Regions from separate parts of the Homo sapiens genome. Here all the other regions are linked to region 3. Evidence: promoter capture Hi-C in human tissues and cell types (Jung and others, 2019). All regions are on one chromosome and are shown on one strand. The core of a region is centred on a gene start or on the middle of the fragment in contact, and the rest is flanking DNA. Distances in the headings are between cores, read along the strand shown.

Region 1 (3,066 bases), core at 80-2,579, 63 kb before region 3:
GTATTAAAAGCTCACACATACACATCTACAAACCAAGGAATATGTGAACCAAAAATTTAGAAACTGTTCAGAGAAGCAGTAATAATTGTGATTTAATTGTGTAGGTTTAAGCAAACAGTTGGCAAAAACAAAGTCCTTCTGCTTCCAACATTTACCCAGCGTTTATAGAAAATAAACTTTTCTCATTATATACAAAATGTTTGTCATAATAACTTGTGGGTAAAATTTCAAAGTGTATGAACATATTAAGGTTAATCTCTTAAGTCCTATTTTGAAATGTTCCTAAAACAAAGGCACATCAATAAAAAGTATTTATGGGAACAAGATACCAATTTAATATCTGAAAGCATTTTTGAACAAACTAAAACTTTGAGCCCAACATTTGCATGATTTCTGATATGCTGAAGATGTGTAAGATTCCTGGTAGTGCTTTAACATCCTGTTTAGCAATTTCATTACACAACTAGATTCTTAACAAACACCCTCTCTAACAGTATGATAACATTTTACAAGTAAACTGTTCATGTATATTTTTTGATGCGTTTAACTAGGATAGTTACTAAAGAATTGGAACTGTCACTTCTTTATTTGAACATTTTAAAACTTATATTTACAAATTTTAAACCGAAGTATATTCTTGTTTATATGCGACCAAGTTCAAGCATTTGCCCATGATTGTAAATTTGCAAATTTCTCAAGCTTAACAATTGTAACTACTACATATATGAATAAATATTCCTCACATAGACAACTTACCCTTATATTTTGAAGTCTCTACTTAAATTTTCTAACTTTCTCATTCGAAAGCAAATTATGAAGAAAAAAATCATGACCCTATTAGACATTTATTTCGTGGAAAAAGCTTTAAGTTTTCTCACAATTTATAAACATGGAATCAGGCTTAAATCAGCTCACAAAGAAATAGTAAGTTTGTATTTCCCTTCTATTCCTCCCATCTATTCACTATCAATGTAATCTAGCAATGAAAACGGGCTGATATCTCAGCACCTTCTCTTTCCTCTCTTTAAAATCAAGCCTTAAGGCATTGGATCTTGCTAGATTCTTAGACATCTTGTCATGTGTTTGTGCCTAGGACTGGGTATTTGAAAATAAACCACTATGAAATATAATTAGGTACTATGCTGAGAAGGCTACAGGTGTACAGGAGGAACAGATTGGCTTTTTATTTCCCCTTTAAAAATATATGCTACAAAGCTGGGTGTAGTGGCTCACATAGGTAATCCCAGCACTTCGAGAGGCCAAAGTGGGAGAATTGCTTGAGCCCAGGAGTTAGAGACCAACCTGGGCAACATAGCAAGACTCTAACTCTACAATAAATTTAAAACGTAGCTGGCCGTGGTGGCATGCACTTGTAGGTACTTGGGAGACTAAGGCAGGAGAATTGCTTGAGCCCAAGAAGTCAAGGTTGCAGTGAGCCATGTTCGTACTACTGGACTCCAGCCTCGGCAACAGGGTGAGACCTTGTCTCAGAGAAGAAATACATAATACATGCTACTATAGGAGACAGCAGCTATGGGAGAATGCACCCAAGACATTCCTCCCCATCATCTTCCTTCTCTTACCACTGCGACCAGTGTGATTCTGGCATCAAACCTCTCTCCTGGGCCACTTTATAACCTCCTATTTCACCTCCCTACATCTTTAGAGATTGATTCTCTTATGTCCACTAAATATTTAAGACTTCTTTGCTTACCGTATTTAGGCCCTAGCCAATATTCAAGGCTCTTCTTTCTTGACCCTCTAGCTAAATCTTATTACTCATTAGCTACATGATTGGACCTCTTCTTGCCAAAGCGCTGCATTTGCTCACAAAGTTCCCACCCTCTGGAATGCCATTAGCTCCACCTGTTAAGGTACTAGTCAAAGTTTGTCTACATTTCTGTTTCCATAAACCTTTCTCTTCCATCATAAACTAGAATTGATCTTTCCCCACTTTTTGCTTCAATATGTTCTTTCAAGGGGTTTAGTCTATCTAAAATCTTTTTCAACATCCTGACTTGTATTATTAATTATTTACCTACATATTTATATCTTATCTTACCTACCGTATGAGAAGTATTTCACGTTTGTTTGCTTTGTCTTCTCTGGAACACAGAACACAGTATTGTACCCTTCATGTTATGGATCTTCACTGTGCAATACAGTAGCCAATAGCTACATGTGTCTATTTAAATTAAAATTAAGTAAATTTTAAAATTTAGCTCTTCAATTATACTTGCCACATTTCAAGTGCTCAATACTCACATGTCAGTAGCCACTGAACCAAATGGGGCGTAGAATATTTTTAATTTCAGAGAAAGTTTTATCATCAGATAGCTAGATTGTAAAGAGTCAATAACCTTACAAAGGTTTATACATTTGTATACAATTATCATCAAAGTACCAGGACATGACTAGAAAACAAGGAGGGAATCTTGATGGCTACTTTCTTGATGGTTTTGAGGACAACCACCAAAATCTATGAGACGCAAACACTCAACTACATTCTCTGGGAGGTTTCGGTTGCCTCAAAAGAGTCAACATTTTCTATTCCCATTATGTTTAAAAATGAACCCAGCTAAGCCAGGACAATTTTTTGATATTTCATATGTAATTCATAGTGGTTAAGGAAATTTATATGGCAATTGTTTTGCAGAAGCTTTAATTCACACTTTCAATATTTAAAAAGCCTGCTGTCACGGCTGGTAGGAATAAAATTAAACCCACCAGCTGTGGTTTGTTTTTTGAGGAAAACACATAACATTTTATTTTTGCATTGTCTGTCATCCTTGTAAATGTCAGAAATATAGAACTGAAATGCACTGAATCCCCTGGTTTACCGTTAGAGTCTTCTGAAAATGCTTAGTATTTTAATTAGACAAATATTTTAGCAATAATTAGGAGGAGGTTTTATTTTAACAGTGATACAAAGCACAGCTTTTATATTTGCTTGGAGAAAGAAATGCGATAATAATATTCATTTGAATTCTTTTTTTTTGAGATGGAATCTAGCTCTGTTGCCCAGGCTGGAGTGCAGTGAGTGGCATGATCTCATCTCACTGCAAC
Region 2 (3,065 bases), core at 112-2,611, 33 kb before region 3:
CTACTGGAAATGTAAAAATGTAAGAGAAGGCATGATATCCAGCCACCTAGGTTCAATTAAAGCAGTTTGTTTCATTTTGTTTATTCTCATTTCAATTGTATTTAAGTTAAATGACCAAGCCAACATTAAATTGCTTTGTTTTTATATATAGATAACTCCTACTATTCTAAAAAGAGGAGTAATTAATTTATCTCTATTTTTCCTCTTTTTTGAGAGAAGACAATTAAGTAAAACAATCTGAATTCCACTCCCTACTTTTTTATTTTTATTTTTATTTTTAATGAAATCCATATAGCTTCAGAAAGACGCTAACAGGGAAGTTGCGCTCCCTTCAGAATCTTCTGAGATCTATGTGAATAGAACGTTTTGAAAGCTACAAGAAGAGAAAACATTTTGTAAGAGAGAGCCAACATTGATGTAAAAGAATCCTAGTGCATCAGATTCATCTGTAGCACCTGGGCTAGGAGTATTAGGGATGCTCAGTGAGAAATACCTGCCCCAGGACCCACTGAGGGATGGGTTCTATGGTCCAGTGGATGTAGGTCACTTTCACCCAGATACAGAGCTAGGTTATTTAAAGAGGCTCATGAAAGTCTCATAGTTTCATCCTTTTTATTTTGTTTATCTTTGTTTATAAAGAGAATAAACAAATTTAAACTAAATTTTGTTTGAAAGCATCCGTTAACCTAATTTGTACACATTACTACTTGAAGTATAAGTGGAGAGAATGATGGAAAACAACGATGTTGATAGACTAAAACAGAGATTTATAAACATATTGTGTAGCATCATAATTTTTTTTACAGTATCCTAATTTCAGGTGGGAGTGATAATGTTGGAACTTAACTATTCCTGAACTTGTATGAATATCACAATTCAGAGCCCACACCAACTATGGGATTTGGTGACACAGCCTGGGTACTTTATAAGCTTTTTTGATTTATAAGAGTATTCATTCATCTAAACTTTTATAACTAAGAGCAGTGAGAGACGCCACTTAAAGACCTTCGACAGTGTCATGCAGTTTTGCCTAGGATGGCTTTGTGAAGCTAAAATAAAAAAGTGTCTTAAAATGTTTTAATAGTAATTGATACAATAAATTGTAATCCCTAGTTTTGTCAAAACTACAATTTATTAACTAGCATAAATAAGTAAAACGTAGATTAATTCTCTGAAATAGCACAAGATATTTAAAATTCAAGTACACCCTATCTAGGGTTGGAACTAACTGATCCTCATCTTTTTATTCATCAGTATAAGTAATTTTGAAATGATGATGAAAAAAATGTTTAACTTTACAAAAGTATGGACACACTGGTAGTCATAACAAATACGTCAAATGTTCCTTTGTTTCCAGGAGGTAACCTACCATTTACCTTCTCCAAGGACTCTTAATAAAATGGACAGAAAAAATCAATTAAAGTAGCGAAATATCCCTTAGGATAAAGTTACTTCAGCAGTCAGTGCACTTCTCAGTAATCTCTTTATCTTGTGCTGAAGTAATACACATTTGTGCCATGTTTTTAAGTACTATATTTTTCATAATGAAGCTATTTAAAACTGAGCAGTGGAAAGAGAATGGGTGCTGATACAGCAAACGTTATGATATAAAAACAGGGTTATGAGGGAAGCACACACCAGAAATGGAAAACGTGATTAGAAGCAAAATGGATGATGCAAAGGTTCTCATATAACACGCCCGTGAAGTAAGACCCCAAATATCTACCTAATCTCCACTATCTAGAGCTATTGTGCCCAAGAGCACCTCTGAAATACTATTATGGGACATTATTTCTGGAATCACTATCTATATAAAAGAAAGTAGTCCCATGAATGAAGTCAGAACTTGAAGAATTCAGCATAGAATTCCACACGCTTTTTAACGGCTCTGTTGCCTCGCCGCACCCCGCTGTAGCCTATGTTTGACCAATTCTCTCATTTTATAAAGGGTGGACCCACCTTAACATTTAAGTGGCATCTGATGCACTACTTAAATTGGTTTCGTTTTCCCATTTCAAAAATTGGGACTTTAATACGATATTGGGAATAATACCCATTTGAGATCAAAGAAATCATGTGCACATTTTTGCATTGGGAATCAGAGAAGATGCATAATTTTTGGAAGCTGAATAGATACCCACATATTTGTCGGCATTCTGAAAATCCCAGGCATTGCATTTTTACCTCTGCTTTTTCTACTTCTCCCTTTTCCCACATTTGTCTTTCTCTCAGTGTTTGTCCATGTGCAGGGAGAGAAATTTAGTGTTGAGGCTCAGCCCAGGAATTTGCCAAACAGATAAGAAGACAGAAAAGCAAGCTTGCCAAAATTTTTCCCATTTCTCCTCAACTCCCCACCAAAATTCATTGTTCTTCCTACATATTTGCTGGTGAAAACTTTGGAAATGTTGGCTCAGAGAGTCACAATAAGACCAAAATAGACCAAAGGGAGCTGTTTGAAATGGTAACCACCAGTCTGTTAGAAAAGAAACCGGCCTGTTCACTTAATGAATAAAATACCTAGAGCTTGCCAAGGCAAATAAAGGCTTGTTTACTGAGATGTATACAAATACAAGAAACAGAGCAAAAGGACTGGAAGAAGTAAACTAAAGAAAAAATATTGTATGGAGAAGTCTGAATTAAAATGAGCTTTCAATCAATTTTGCAATCACTGTCATTCATGAGAAACTCTGTAATGCTTATTAAAATGAAAATAAAACAACAAGGGTAAGAATCCTGTTCTCTTGGCCTGCCTCCAAGTAAGGTAATTTTGTCTTGTCTCCTAAAATTATCCCAGAGGTAAAAATTATCTCAGACTTTTTAAAAACTGCTCATCTCTAAGCTACTGGTGATTGATCCTTTATGTATTGGTGAAAAAAAGAGGCCCTATTGGTCCATGACTGTATATATCCCCATTTGCCCATGATAGTCCTAGTTTATACCTATTGTCCCAACAGAATTAGTAATATTGTTTCTGTTTATTCTCAAGAGTGTCCTAGTTCGGCTAATTAATTTTATGGTTACCTTATCTATGCCACTCTGAAGGAATGAAAGAAGTGATGAAAGTC
Region 3 (2,998 bases), core at 293-2,792:
CCACAGCAGCCCATCCCCGGGACCCAGAGGGCAAGGGGAGGACCGGGCCGAAGAGCGAGGTCTGGGCAGGGTGAGGTGCCAACTTCTCAGGGGGTCGGGCGCGGCTGGCGAGCCCCGAGCAGGGAGAGGAGAGGGCCGCGCTCGCCGGGGCGCGCGGCTCGCGGGCGCGCAGAGCGAGCGGCGCCGGGAAAGGAGCGAGGGCAGGCGAGCAGGCTGGTGGGAAGGGGCGCGGGCGGCGGGGGCTATCCCCCCCGACTCACCTTGCGTTGGTGCAGTCATTGTAGAGGGTCTCGAAGTCCTTCCTGGAGATGAGTTTGCAGCGGTTCACTCCTGGCTGGATGGCGCCCAGTCCCCTCAGGATGCGAACTTGTTCCACATTGCACACCACCGGCGTGATCTCCAGCCGCTTCAGCTTGGTGTAGACCGTATGCAAGCCCCCCACCAAGTGCTTCAGGAACAGGTCGAAAGCCTGGGGCAGGCAGATCAGCTCGCAGCCCTCCACCGTGAAGGAAGCCACTTTGGCCCCCCTCAGATCCACCATTTTGCACTCATTATTCTGAGGGGTGTTTTCCACTGGGGACGGGGTTGAGTACACGGGTTTCCCGGGGAGGGGGCCGCAGCTGCTGCTGCTACTGCTGCTGCTGCTACTACTGCTGCTGCTGCTGCTGCTGCTACTGCTGCTGCTGCTGCTGCCGGTGCTGGCGTTGATGGGGGTGCTGGAAGCGACGCCGCCGCCAGCGCTGATGCCGCCGCCGCCGCCGCCGCTGCCGTTGCTCGCGGCCGCCAGGTTGGGGTTGCAGTTGCTGCCACCGCCGCCGCCGCCACCGCCGCCTCCGTTGCCGCTGCTGCCGCCGCCGCCTCCGCTGCCGCCGCCGCCGCCGCCGCCGCCGGTAGAGGTGACTGTGGCCGCCGCCGCCGCCGCCGAAGCGATGGGCTCCGGGCGGAACAGAGTTGGCCCAGAGGACGCCGGGGGTCCGATGGAAGGAGCCGGAGACGAAGTCGCCGAAGAGGTGGAGGTGGTGGTGCCAGAGGAGGAAGCAGACGTGGAGATTGGGGGTTGAGGGGGGACCAGCTGGGTCGGAGGGATCAAAGCCGCCGGCACTGCCATGGTCACATATAAGGGGAAACAGACGGAGGAGAAGCGAGAGGAAAAGTTGCCACACACCCCCGGGAGGGGAAGGGGAAAAAAGGGGGGAGAAGGAGCGAGGGGGGCAACAACAACTCCGGGAGAGAACGAGAAGGAGAAAGGGAGAGAAGGGGGAGAAAAGGAGGTGAAGGTAATAAAGAGCGAGCGCAAGAGGGGCGAGCACGAGAGGCGCTCTGGAGAGGAACGCACAAAAGTGTCCCGCAAGTCGAAATGCGAGTCCTCTCCGGGGGCTGGGATCGAGGGCTGGTTTGGGGGTGGGGGTGGGGCGGGGAGGGTCGGCTGTTGTTGTGTGGGTCTCGCTCTAGCACAAAGTTAAGGATGAAGGTGAAAAGGAGGAGGTTTGAAGGACTTGGGCTCTCCCTGGCAAGTACATTGATCAAAGATTGAGAGGGGAATGACAGAGAGAAAATGAGCTGAAAAGTGCAGGCTGCCGGCTGGACGAGTTGTTGTTGTCACACGGTGCAGAGGGGAGGAGCTCCGGAAACTTGAAATACCCTTTGAAGCCGCAAAAACCTCACTCACTAGTATTAACCCAAATTATCCAACCAGGAACTCGGAGCAGAGACTCCGAGAGCGCGAGACACTGGAGAGGGAGCGTGCGAGGAAAGGAGGAGGGGAGGGGGAGGATACGGAAAGAAACTGTGGGAGGGACGGAGAGGAAAAGCCGGGGACACAGAAGTGGCGATCGGAAAAGGAGAGGGAGATCATCTACTTCTCTTCTACTACTACCGTTAGATTGCATGTCTCACATTCCATTTCGTCCGCGGGGACTGGTAATTTTTTCCAAAGCTTCTAAACAATCGCCCGCCAACTTAAAGAGGAGCCTGAGCGCGCCGAGCTCTCTCCTTCCAGGATTTAGGATCCATCTCCACGCGTTTTGGCAATGAGCTAGAAACGAAAACACAGCCCCCACTTCACGATTATTCAGAAATTATTTTGAGGAAAATTCACATGTAAGCAAAGCGTAATGTTCTTTTGCATCTGATTGTTTATTTCTCTACTAAATTATTTATTTATATAAAGATAGTGAAAATTCCAGGACAGTTTTCAAGTGGTGAGAAGAAAGTCAGTCCGAAATCGCTTAAGAATAATGGAAAGCTCTGTATTCAATTCCATATTTCCTAATAGGTTGTGGAAAGAAATGCTTGCCTTGATGTGGATGATTTAGAATAACTTCACTGTCTCCCCAAAAGCCAGTCAGAAATACCTGTTAAACCTAGAGCTATCAAGGAGATAAGGTATCCTTGAAGATTTAGAAAGTGGAAAAAGGGTTTTCTTACCCAAAACTCTATAATTAATTCACCTGTCTTACACAGTAACCAACTATCCTCATGTCCTTTAAGACCCAAAGCCAATTGCTAATGTGTTTTTTGGACAACACAATAGTTTTTTTTTTTTTTTTTTCATGTTTGAAAAGTGCTGCTGTAGTTTTGGAAAGTCCTTTTCAATTTGTCAGTAAATATATGTTTTGTAAATAATGGGAAGAACAAAAACAAAGCTCACTAGTTGACTTGTAAAGACTTGGGTAGCTGTGCTTAAAACAACATGAGGCTGAGTTTAGACTGACTCTATTCCTCCTTTCCTTCCTCTTTCCTTTTCTTTTCTTTTCTAACTTGTTGCACTGAAGTATTTATTCAAGGATTTTTGACTAACATATCATTTGAATATGGGTCAAATCTATTTGCTGCTCATGTCTCCAAGTATCTTCAATTAGTTAGCCTTTGAACCGGTCCACACATGTTCAGTAAGTTCATAAGATATGAAGCAATGCTTTAGCATTTGACAGATTTTTAAAATAAACTGTTAGTAGCAGGTTCACAGGGTTGGGAAATTTTATAATAAAATTTTTGC

Evidence for each region. Contacts are between HindIII fragments. The study calls those that stand out against the background at their distance.
Region 1: a fragment that was not itself captured here is called in contact with the fragment with the promoter of DACH1 in region 3 in 1 of the 25 tissues and cell types used here (hippocampus).
Region 2: a fragment that was not itself captured here is called in contact with the fragment with the promoter of DACH1 in region 3 in 1 of the 25 tissues and cell types used here (pancreas).

Annotation. Positions count from the first base shown.
Region 1 is chr13:71,802,824-71,805,889 of GRCh38, forward strand. The region is part of intron 1 of DACH1 (dachshund family transcription factor 1); the gene reads right to left. Among named protein-coding and RNA genes, the nearest start is that of DACH1, 63 kb to the right of the region's middle. The HindIII fragment of the contact is 4,518 bases long and covers 1-3,066 here.
Region 2 is chr13:71,832,718-71,835,782 of GRCh38, forward strand. All of the region lies in intron 1 of DACH1 (dachshund family transcription factor 1), which reads right to left. Among named protein-coding and RNA genes, the nearest start is that of DACH1, 33 kb to the right of the region's middle. The HindIII fragment of the contact is 3,444 bases long and covers 1-3,065 here.
Region 3 is chr13:71,865,662-71,868,659 of GRCh38, forward strand. It overlaps DACH1 (dachshund family transcription factor 1), which reads right to left and starts at 1,543. Exons shown (of 11, transcript NM_080759.6): 1 at 261-1,543. The coding sequence starts at 1,108. The HindIII fragment of the contact is 6,446 bases long and covers 1-2,998 here.